Regions from separate parts of the Homo sapiens genome. Here region 2 is linked to region 1. Evidence: promoter capture Hi-C in 16 types of primary human blood cells and fetal thymus (Javierre and others, 2016). All regions are on one chromosome and are shown on one strand. The core of a region is centred on a gene start or on the middle of the fragment in contact, and the rest is flanking DNA. Distances in the headings are between cores, read along the strand shown.

Region 1 (4,237 bases), core at 672-3,171:
CAGGAGGCATCCGGGGCATCACTGGGCTCCCCGCCTCTCCGAGGGCACTCAACCAGAGAAGCCGCCTGGGCACCAGTGCTCCAAGGACGTCTGCCAGGCCGGCTGCTCTCCACCCCAGCCACCGACCCCCAGCAGGCTCTTTGGGGCAGGAGTGCGGAGCTGGACACTGGTACCCTCCGTCTCTGAGGCCTGGGCTGTCTGTATGTCCATCTGACTGACTGCCCACCTATCCAGGAGCAACGGTGATGGCCACAGCAGTAGCAGTGGCAGTGGCAGTGGCATAGCAGTGGCAGTGGCATAGCAGTGGCAGTGACAGTAGCAGTAGCAGTGGCAGTGGGAGTGGCATAGCAGTGGCAGTGGCAGTAGCAGTGGCAGTGGGAGTGGCAGTGGCAGTGGCAGCGGCAGTGGCATTAGCAGTGGCAGTGGCAGTGGTAGCAGTAGCAGTGGCAGTGGTGACAGTGGCAGTGGAAGTAGCAGCGGCAGCGGCAGTGGCAGTGGCATTAGCAGTGGCAGTGGCAGTGGTAGCAGTAGCAGTGGCAGTGGTGACAGTGGCAGTGGAAGCAGCGGCAGCGGCAGTGGCAGTGGCATTAGCAGTGGCAGTGGCAGTGGCTGCTGTTGATCACATACTGTTCTGTGTCAAGCACCACACCAGGCTTTTTCCCACTTGCATGGGCACTGAAACCATCCTGCAGCTTTGCTGAGGAAGCCAAGCTCAGAGTGGTGCCCTCTGCACCTTGACCCGCTTCTCCCCAAGGGATTCCCCTGCCCCTGTCCACCTCCTGGCTGCCCCTGTGGAACACCCACTGCATAGCTAGGTTGGGCACATGCATGTGGCCGGGGCCCACCTGGCCTTGGAGGAAGTGCTGATTGTCTCATTCTACAGGTTTGGACACTGAGGCTTGAAGCAGATCAGAGATGAGCAGGTGGAGCAAGATTTGGACCTGGACATGGCCTCAGAGTCTCCTCCCACCCTCTGTGGTAATGGGCAAAGCCTCTCCCATGGAGACTTCGGCCAGGTCGCTTGTCTGGCCGTGCCTCAGTTTCTGTGACTGTAGAACAGATGTTGGTGGTGAGCCCTGACCCAGGCTCCTGTGCACACACCGCCGCAGGGCCCCCGGGACAGCTGCACACGCATGTTGTGTGTGCACATGCACTCGTGTACCCCACACGCGCGTGCGCCCGTGCACTCGTGTGTACACATAAACAGAGGAGCCAGCCGAGGTGTCCCTGCAGCTCAGGCACAGCAGCCCTGCAACCTGACTCCCTCCCGGAGGTGGAGGTGGGCCGGGCTGCTCTCCTGCCCTGCCGGCTGGCTCCCTGAGGCCTGGCCCGTGGGGGAGGGGGTTGAGCAAGGCCCGCCTTTGTGGCTGCTTCCCCACAGACACAGCGGCAGAGGAGTCCCCTGCTCAGTGCCCAGCTGCGGGTGCTGCACCCCTGCACCACCCTCACCCCTGTGGCTGCGCCCGCTTATCCTCTTGTGAACCTGGATGGTGGGGCGGGACAGGCCCAGGGTGGAGGGCGAGGCCACCAGCCTGTCCCTGATGCCCCAAGCCCCTCAGCAGACCATGGACACTTCCTGGGCCCTGGTGCCAGACTAGGCCTGGCCTCTTTGCACCCAGCTCCTGCCAGGAACGCCCACTGAGCTCTCTCCGTTGCTAGGTCCCTGGACCAGGAGCAGCCTTGTGCCACCCCTTAGGGAAGACGTCCAGTCCCACCCACCCCCGCGGCTCTCCTCGCAGGAGTCCAAGCTGGGCCTCCAGCCTCCCTGGTGAGCACCCCAGCCAGGGATCCCAGCTCACCCGGCTACTTGGGTGGCCTGGCCCCGGGGTCCCGGGTACTCACATGGCTCCTGGCCCTGCCTCAACCTCTGTCGACCTCTGCGCGGAGTCCCCCACGCTCTTCACAGGGAGAGAGAAGTGAGCGGGCTGTGAACCTGCACAGGCAACAAGACAGGATTTTGGCCAAACCCGCTTGACAGGTTTTCGATTCTCCCAGCCAGGAGCAGAAAGGAGGCAGAGACTGCCCTGAGCCGCCAGGCGGGTTCTGCCATCTCGCAGAAAGTGGCCGGACAGGTTGGGTCTGAAGCCACATAGAGTTGGGATTGTTTCCTCATAATCACTGTGAGGCTGGGCTGCAGGAGCCAAGCTGGTTAGCACTGAGAATCCAGTTTGGTGCCTGTGACACGGAGGGCCCGGGCGGGGAAGGGTGGGGGGCTTGCAGGGGTGCCTGGGTCGGGGGCTGCAGGTGGGAGTGAGCAAATGTGCTGTCTCGCCACCTCGGGACAGGTGGTAGGGCCTCTGACACAGAGTGGTCCTTCCTGCTGTTCACAGCTCAGCTCACCGTGGGCTGACCATAGGTAGGTGACAGTCCCCTTTCTGGCCTCGGTTTCCCTGTCTGTAAATTGGGGATAATAAGCTCAAGAGCTGTCCCTGCCAGAACCCAGTGGACAGAAATCCAGCAGCTGCTATGGGAAGCGACCCGCCCAGCCTGCCCCGCCCTGCCTGGGGAAGCAGGCCTTCTGCTTGAGGGGGACTGGGCGCATGCTGGGCCTCTGGTCTGCGCAGTCTGCCCGGGGTCTGTGAGTGCTTGTGAGTGGGCTTCTCCAGTCTCCAGGTAGGCTGGGTGCCCCCGGCCAGGTGGAGCCCAGGGGGGCAAATAGGCTGGGGGCTGGCCTGGCCCCGGGTGGCACGGCCCAGGTGCTGGAGCAGCCTCACACTGTGGTCTCGTGTGTGTTCCCTGGACAGCAACACTGTGGCTGCGGGGTACAGCCCTGACCCCCTCATGCCTTGCCCCCTGTGTCCTACCCACGACCCCTCCCCACTCCCTCCTCCCCGCCTCCACCTCCGCCTCTGCCTCATCCTCAGCCTGTCTTAGCTCTGCACGGAAGCAGAGCGGGGGTTCCCGAGTCCTTGGGGCCATGATCCCCAGCGCACCCGAGTACCCCAGGAATGCACGGGGCTCAGAGGAGGAAGCCTGGGAGCCTGGCCTGTAGCCGCTGCCGCGAGGGGAGGACGGACTTCCTGCTCCCTGGCAGGGCCCCTGCTGGTGGCTGGTGGCCAGCTCTGGGTTTGGGATGAGGGCTGGGTCATCTCTGGCCCCACGATGCCCTCCCACTCAGGACCAGGCTCTTGGGAGGGGGTTGTGGTCAGCATGGGCCACTCCAGCTCTGGCTGGCCTGGGAACTTCGTGGAGGCCCCTCCTCCGGCCACCTCCCTGTTCCTGGCTGGGCCCTTTGTGAGTGGGGTCTGCTTGCTGCTGGCGTGTGTTTTGTGTGTGCCTGTGTGGGGACTGTGTGCACGTGTGTGTGTGTGTGTGTGTGGGGATACGAATGTGTGTGCATGTCTTACATGTGTGTGCCTGTGTGTGCATGTGTTGCACGTGTGTGTGTGCACATGTGTGCGTGGACATGTGTAGCTGCTTTGTGCTGTGGTCTGGATGTTTTTTGTGTCTACCCCAGATTCTCGTTGAAATCCTAACGCCCCAGGCAATGATGTTAGGAGGCGGGGCTTCTGGGAGATGGCAAGTTCGTGAGGCTGCAGCTCTGCTGGGGGATCAGTGTCCTTCTACAAGCGGCTCCAGGGAGGTCCCTTGCCCCTTCCACCATGTGAGGACCCGAGATGGTGCCGTCTATGAACCGGGAAGTGAGTCCTCTCCGGACGTGGAACAAGTTGGTGCCTTGATTTTGAACTTGCAGCCTCCAGGTATGAATGTGAGCTCTGGGCTCACTGCCTGTGGGGAGCCCTGCCTCACAAGGAGGGGTCCCTCTGCATCTGCCATGCATGGCTGTTTCAATCAAAGCTGCTGTCTAACACCACCGGCTCGACCTTGAGTTCCTCCCTGAGCAAAGCCAAGCGACCTCCTGGACTGAGCCAGTTTTCGTGCCTGCCTGCCCTGGCTCATTGGCCAGGGACCCCACCCCGCCATGTCCAGGCCTTGGTGATACAGGACAGAGGTGCCCGTGCAGGTTGTGCCTGTGGCTGGGTCCCCAGGGAGAAGGTGGCAACCCCAGGCCAGCAGCCTCCTACCCTGAACTCCAGGCAACATCGTCGGCCCCCTGGCACTGCACCTGCACTGTGGGCAGAGAAGGAGGGAAGGCTGGGAGAGGAGGAGGAGGTCGAATGTCGCTGGAGGTCGGCGTCCTTCTGCAGCCGTGGGTTTGTGTGCCCCTTTGTTCATTCATGCAACCATCCAAGACCCATTTCCTGGCTGCCCACCAGGCCCTGTCCAGGCTCTGGGC
Region 2 (4,237 bases), core at 1,738-4,237, 330 kb after region 1:
CTCAGCAGTTGGCTGAGTGCCCACCCTGGGTCTCGCCTATTCTTGCTCACAGGCATGGAGGCAGCAGAGGCAGGGGCATCCCTGCACTCTGGGGGAACAGGGGCTCCACCAAGGACACAAACACAGGCACCAGGCACCTTCAGCCAGTGATGAGCATGAAGAAAAAAATACCACCACCACCACCCCTGACTACATCTGGCAGCTGGGAGGGGCTCTCAGAGCAGGTGGCATCCTGCAAGTCCCAAGGACCAGGAGCCCATCTGGGCAACAGAGCTGCAGGCGAGGGGATGGCTGGAGCAAAGGCCCTGTGGTGGGAGGTGCTTGGCAAGAAGGCGGGGCAGGGGCAGGGCAGACGCTGCCAACAACACAGGGCTTGGAGAGTGTGATGGGAACTGGAGAGAATGAAGCCCTTTCATGCCTGAGACCCAGGTCTTCAGTTTGGTTTGCCTGAAGCATTTGGCTTGAGCTCCTCCCTGGTGCTGGCCCATTTTCAGGGCTTGTTTGAGGGTGTGGCCAGTCACAGGAGAGGCCCATAGCCAAGCACATTACCCTAAGAGAGCCTGGCTCTGGGCTCAGCCTTCCCTGCTCATGGGAACCAGCCAGGGCTTTGGACACGGAGCTCTCAGGGCTGGCGAAGCCCACAGCAGGGCAACGCCCATCCTATCGGAACCCTGAGGACCAGCCCCAGCTCAGGACGGCTGGCTTGCCAACATCCAAGGTGTGTCCTGGTCCCAGTGTGTGCCTGTTGTTTTAATAGTAGCCATCCTAATAGATTTGAGGTGGCATCTCGTTGTGGTTTTGATTTGCATTTCTCCAGTGATTTAAGATTAATGATTAATAACATCTTTCATGTGCTTGTTGACCATTTGTATCTTCTTTGGAGAAATGTCTGAGTCCTTTGCCCATTTGTGAATTGGATTGTTTGTTTTCATGTTGAGTTTTAGGAGTTATACTCTCAAGGTTAACTCATTATCAGATGTGATTTGCAAATATTTTCTCCTTTTTTGTGAGCTGACTTCCACTCTCCTGATGGCATCCTTTGATACACAGAAATTCAGTGTTTATGTTGTTCAATTTATCTACTTTTTTCTTTTGTGGCCTGTGCTTTTGGTGTCATACCCAAGAAATCATTGCCAAAATCAATGTTGTAAAGTAATTATGTTTTCTCCTAGGAGTTTTATGGTTTTAGTTCTTATGTTCAGGTCTTTAATCCACTTCAAGTCCATTTTTGTATATGGTGTGAGGGGAGGATCCACCTTCATACAAGTGGATGTCCCGTTTTCCTAACACCCTTTGTTGAATAGACTGTCCTTTCCCCACTGAATGGTCTTGGTGAAGATCACTTGACCATAAAGGTAAGGGTTCGTTTCTGAGATTTCTAGTCTATTCCCTTGGTCTACGTGTCTATCTTTATGCCAGCACCACACTGTAACTTTGTAGTAAGTTTTGAAATCAAGAAGTGTAAGACCTCCAACTTTATTTTCTTACAAGATTGTTTTGGCTGTCCGGGATCCTTTGAGATTTCATATGAATTTTAGCACAGATTTTTCTATTTCTGCCAAAAGCATTCTTGAAATTTGATACGGATTGCATTGAATCTGTAGAGTGCTTTGGGTAGTACTGACACCTTAACAATATTAAATCTTCCAATCCATGAACATGGGATGTCTCCCTGCATCTCCCTCAGACCACGTGTCTCCTTCTCTGAGGCCATATCTCTGTGTCTCTAAGCCCATGTCTCTGAGCCAGTGTCTACCTCCCTCAGCCCATGTCTCTCCCTCTCTGAGCCTGTGTCCTGTCTCTGAGCCTGTGTCCTGTCTCTGAGCTTATGCTCCCTCCCCAAGCCCACGTCTCTCCCTCTCTGAGCTTGTGTCTGGTCTCTGAGCCCATGTCTCCCCCACTGAGCCCACGCCTCTGTGCCTCAGGTGCAGTGGGTCTCTGAGCCCACGCCTCTGTGCCTCAGGTGCAGTGGGTCTCTGAGCCCACGTCTCTGTGCCTCAGGTGCAGTGGGTCTCTGAGCCCATGTCCTGTCTCTGAGCCCACGTCTCTGTGCCTCAGGTGCAGTGGGTCTCTGAGCCCATGTCTCTGTGCCTCAGGTGCAGTGGGTCTCTGAGCCCACGTCTCTGTGCCTCAGGTGCAGTGGGTCTCTGAGCCCACATCTGTGTGCCTCAGGTGCAGTGGGTCTCTGAGCCCACGCCTCTGTGCCTCAGGTGCAGTGGGTCTCTGAGCCCACGTCTCTGTGCCTCAGGTGCAGTGGTCATCGCCTTTGTGGTCTGCTGGCTGCCCTACCACGTGCGGCGCCTCATGTTCTGCTACATCTCGGATGAGCAGTGGACTCCGTGAGTACCGGGAACCAGGAAGTTGGGTGCTGGACAAGTAAGTGCTCCCAAAACAGATGGTGGGTGTGGCAGGCACTGCTGAGGGGATCCACTCAGGGCAGGGGTGTGGTGAGTCCCCCGGCGACCCCCTGGGCAGGGTTGTGCTGTGACTGGGGCCGGGAGAAGGCCATGGAGGGACAGGTTCAAGGCAGGGGCTATTCAGGCCAGACTGGTGCAGAGAAAGAAAGTTGGTCCTAAGAGAGATGGCCCAGGCAGTTTCCCGAAGGTGAAAGAGAGACATCCCTGGCTCTGCTGGGGACATGGTGGGGGTGTCACCTCCTCATATGGCAGCTGTCAGAGCCCCAAGGCCACCCAGGTTGGACCCACAGGGCTCAGCCTGGAGTTATACTCAGGGCTGTGACTTATCGCAGCAAGAGCACCAATACTGACAAAGCTTTGCTTATACAGCAAAGTCAGCAAAGGGAAAAGACACATGGAGTGGGGTCAGCGGAAGACCAGATGCAGCTTCCAGGGCCCCCTCCCAGAGGAGCCTCACAGGACGATATGGGGGCCGATCACAGGGGCACCCACTGCCTGGCAAAACCCCTACTGTTTGCACCAACAGTTCAGGGGCAGGGAGCCCTTCTCACCCAAAAATGGCAGAGCCTTCCCAAAATCCAAGGCCCCAGGCACCAGCCAGAGGCCAGCCTTGCCAGCTGGCCATCCTGAGATGGCAGCTTGGGGCCCACTTGTGAACCCTTTTCTGTGCAGTGGGGCTGCCAGATCCCAGAATAAAAGGTTCCTTCCAGTGACAACCACCAGGGAGGGCGCACCTACGACCAATGAGGAGGAGAAGGCACGGGGAACAGAGTGTGGCCCCTGCAAAAGCTTCTGAAACTCAGGGCTGACTGGTAGTAATTGAGCTGCCTGGTGAGGGAGTGAGATCACTGTGGGGGGAGGCAACAAGCTGAGGGCAAGGTGTGTGGCTGCTGGGGAGGTGTGGAGGGGGTTACTGCCCTGGCTGTTTGGTTAGGCCGGGACCAGCCAAGCCCTGGACCCTTGGATGCACAGAGCTGCGAAGGGCAATGCAGGCAGCTGCAAGGAGAGGCAGGGATGGACAAGCAGAGCCCACGCTCCACCTAAAGAAGCCCAGGCTGGGTGGGACACGGTGGCTCACGCCTGTAATCCCAGCACTTTGGGAGGCTGAGGTGGGTGGATCACGAGGTCAGGAGATCGAGACCATCCTGGCTAACACGGTGAAACCCCGTCTCTACCAAAAATACAAAAAATTAGCCGGGCGTGGTGGGGGGGTCCCTGTAGTCCCAGCTACTCGGGAGGCTGAGGCAGGAGAATGGTGTGAACCCGGGAGGTGGAGCTTGCAGTGAGCCGAGATCGCGCCACTGTACTCCAGCCTGGGAGACAGAGCGAGACTCCGTCTCAAAAAAAAAAAAAAAGCAGCAGCAGCCCAGGCTGGGCGGGAGCACGACGAGAACTTGCAGCTGCTCAGGAGAAGCCAGACCCTGGAGCTTGTTATGAAATGTCCCCAAACAACCATTCTCAAGGGGTGTTTTAATTAGCGTCTGAGCCACCACGTCCCTCAGCCGCTGTGGCCCCGGCTGTCACCCTGCCTTGGGGCCCTCAAGAGTTCTCTCTGGGATCTGAGCGCCTCTCTCTCCCCGCAGGTTCCTCTATGACTTCTACCACTACTTCTACATGGTGACCAACGCACTCTTCTACGTCAGCTCCACCATCAACCCCATCCTGTACAACCTCGTCTCTGCCAACTTCCGCCACATCTTCCTGGCCACACTGGCCTGCCTCTGCCCGGTGTGGCGGCGCAGGAGGAAGAGGCCAGCCTTCTCGAGGAAGGCCGACAGCGTGTCCAGCAACCACACCCTCTCCAGCAATGCCACCCGCGA

What was found. Contacts are between HindIII fragments. The CHiCAGO score rates a contact against its expected background, and 5 or more counts as called.
Region 2: a contact is called between a fragment that was not itself captured here and the fragment with the promoter of RBBP8NL in region 1, in 1 of 17 cell types (M1 macrophages). The highest score is 5.8, in M1 macrophages.

What each region holds. Positions count from the first base shown.
Region 1 is chr20:62,425,618-62,429,854 of GRCh38, forward strand. RBBP8NL (RBBP8 N-terminal like) reads right to left here and starts at 1,922. Exons shown (of 14, transcript NM_080833.3): 1 at 1,843-1,922. It overlaps LOC105372710 (a long non-coding RNA gene), which reads left to right and starts at 2,213. Exons shown (of 4, transcript NR_187662.1): 1 at 2,213-2,356; 2 at 3,458-3,701. RefSeq lists an enhancer at 762-1,521 and a silencer at 1,136-1,430. The HindIII fragment of the contact is 11,585 bases long and covers 1-4,237 here.
Region 2 is chr20:62,756,018-62,760,254 of GRCh38, forward strand. It overlaps NTSR1 (neurotensin receptor 1), which reads left to right. Exons shown (of 4, transcript NM_002531.3): 3 at 2,249-2,339; 4 at 4,001-4,237. Among named protein-coding and RNA genes, the nearest start is that of LINC00659, 19 kb to the right of the region's middle. The HindIII fragment of the contact is 434 bases long and covers 2,771-3,204 here.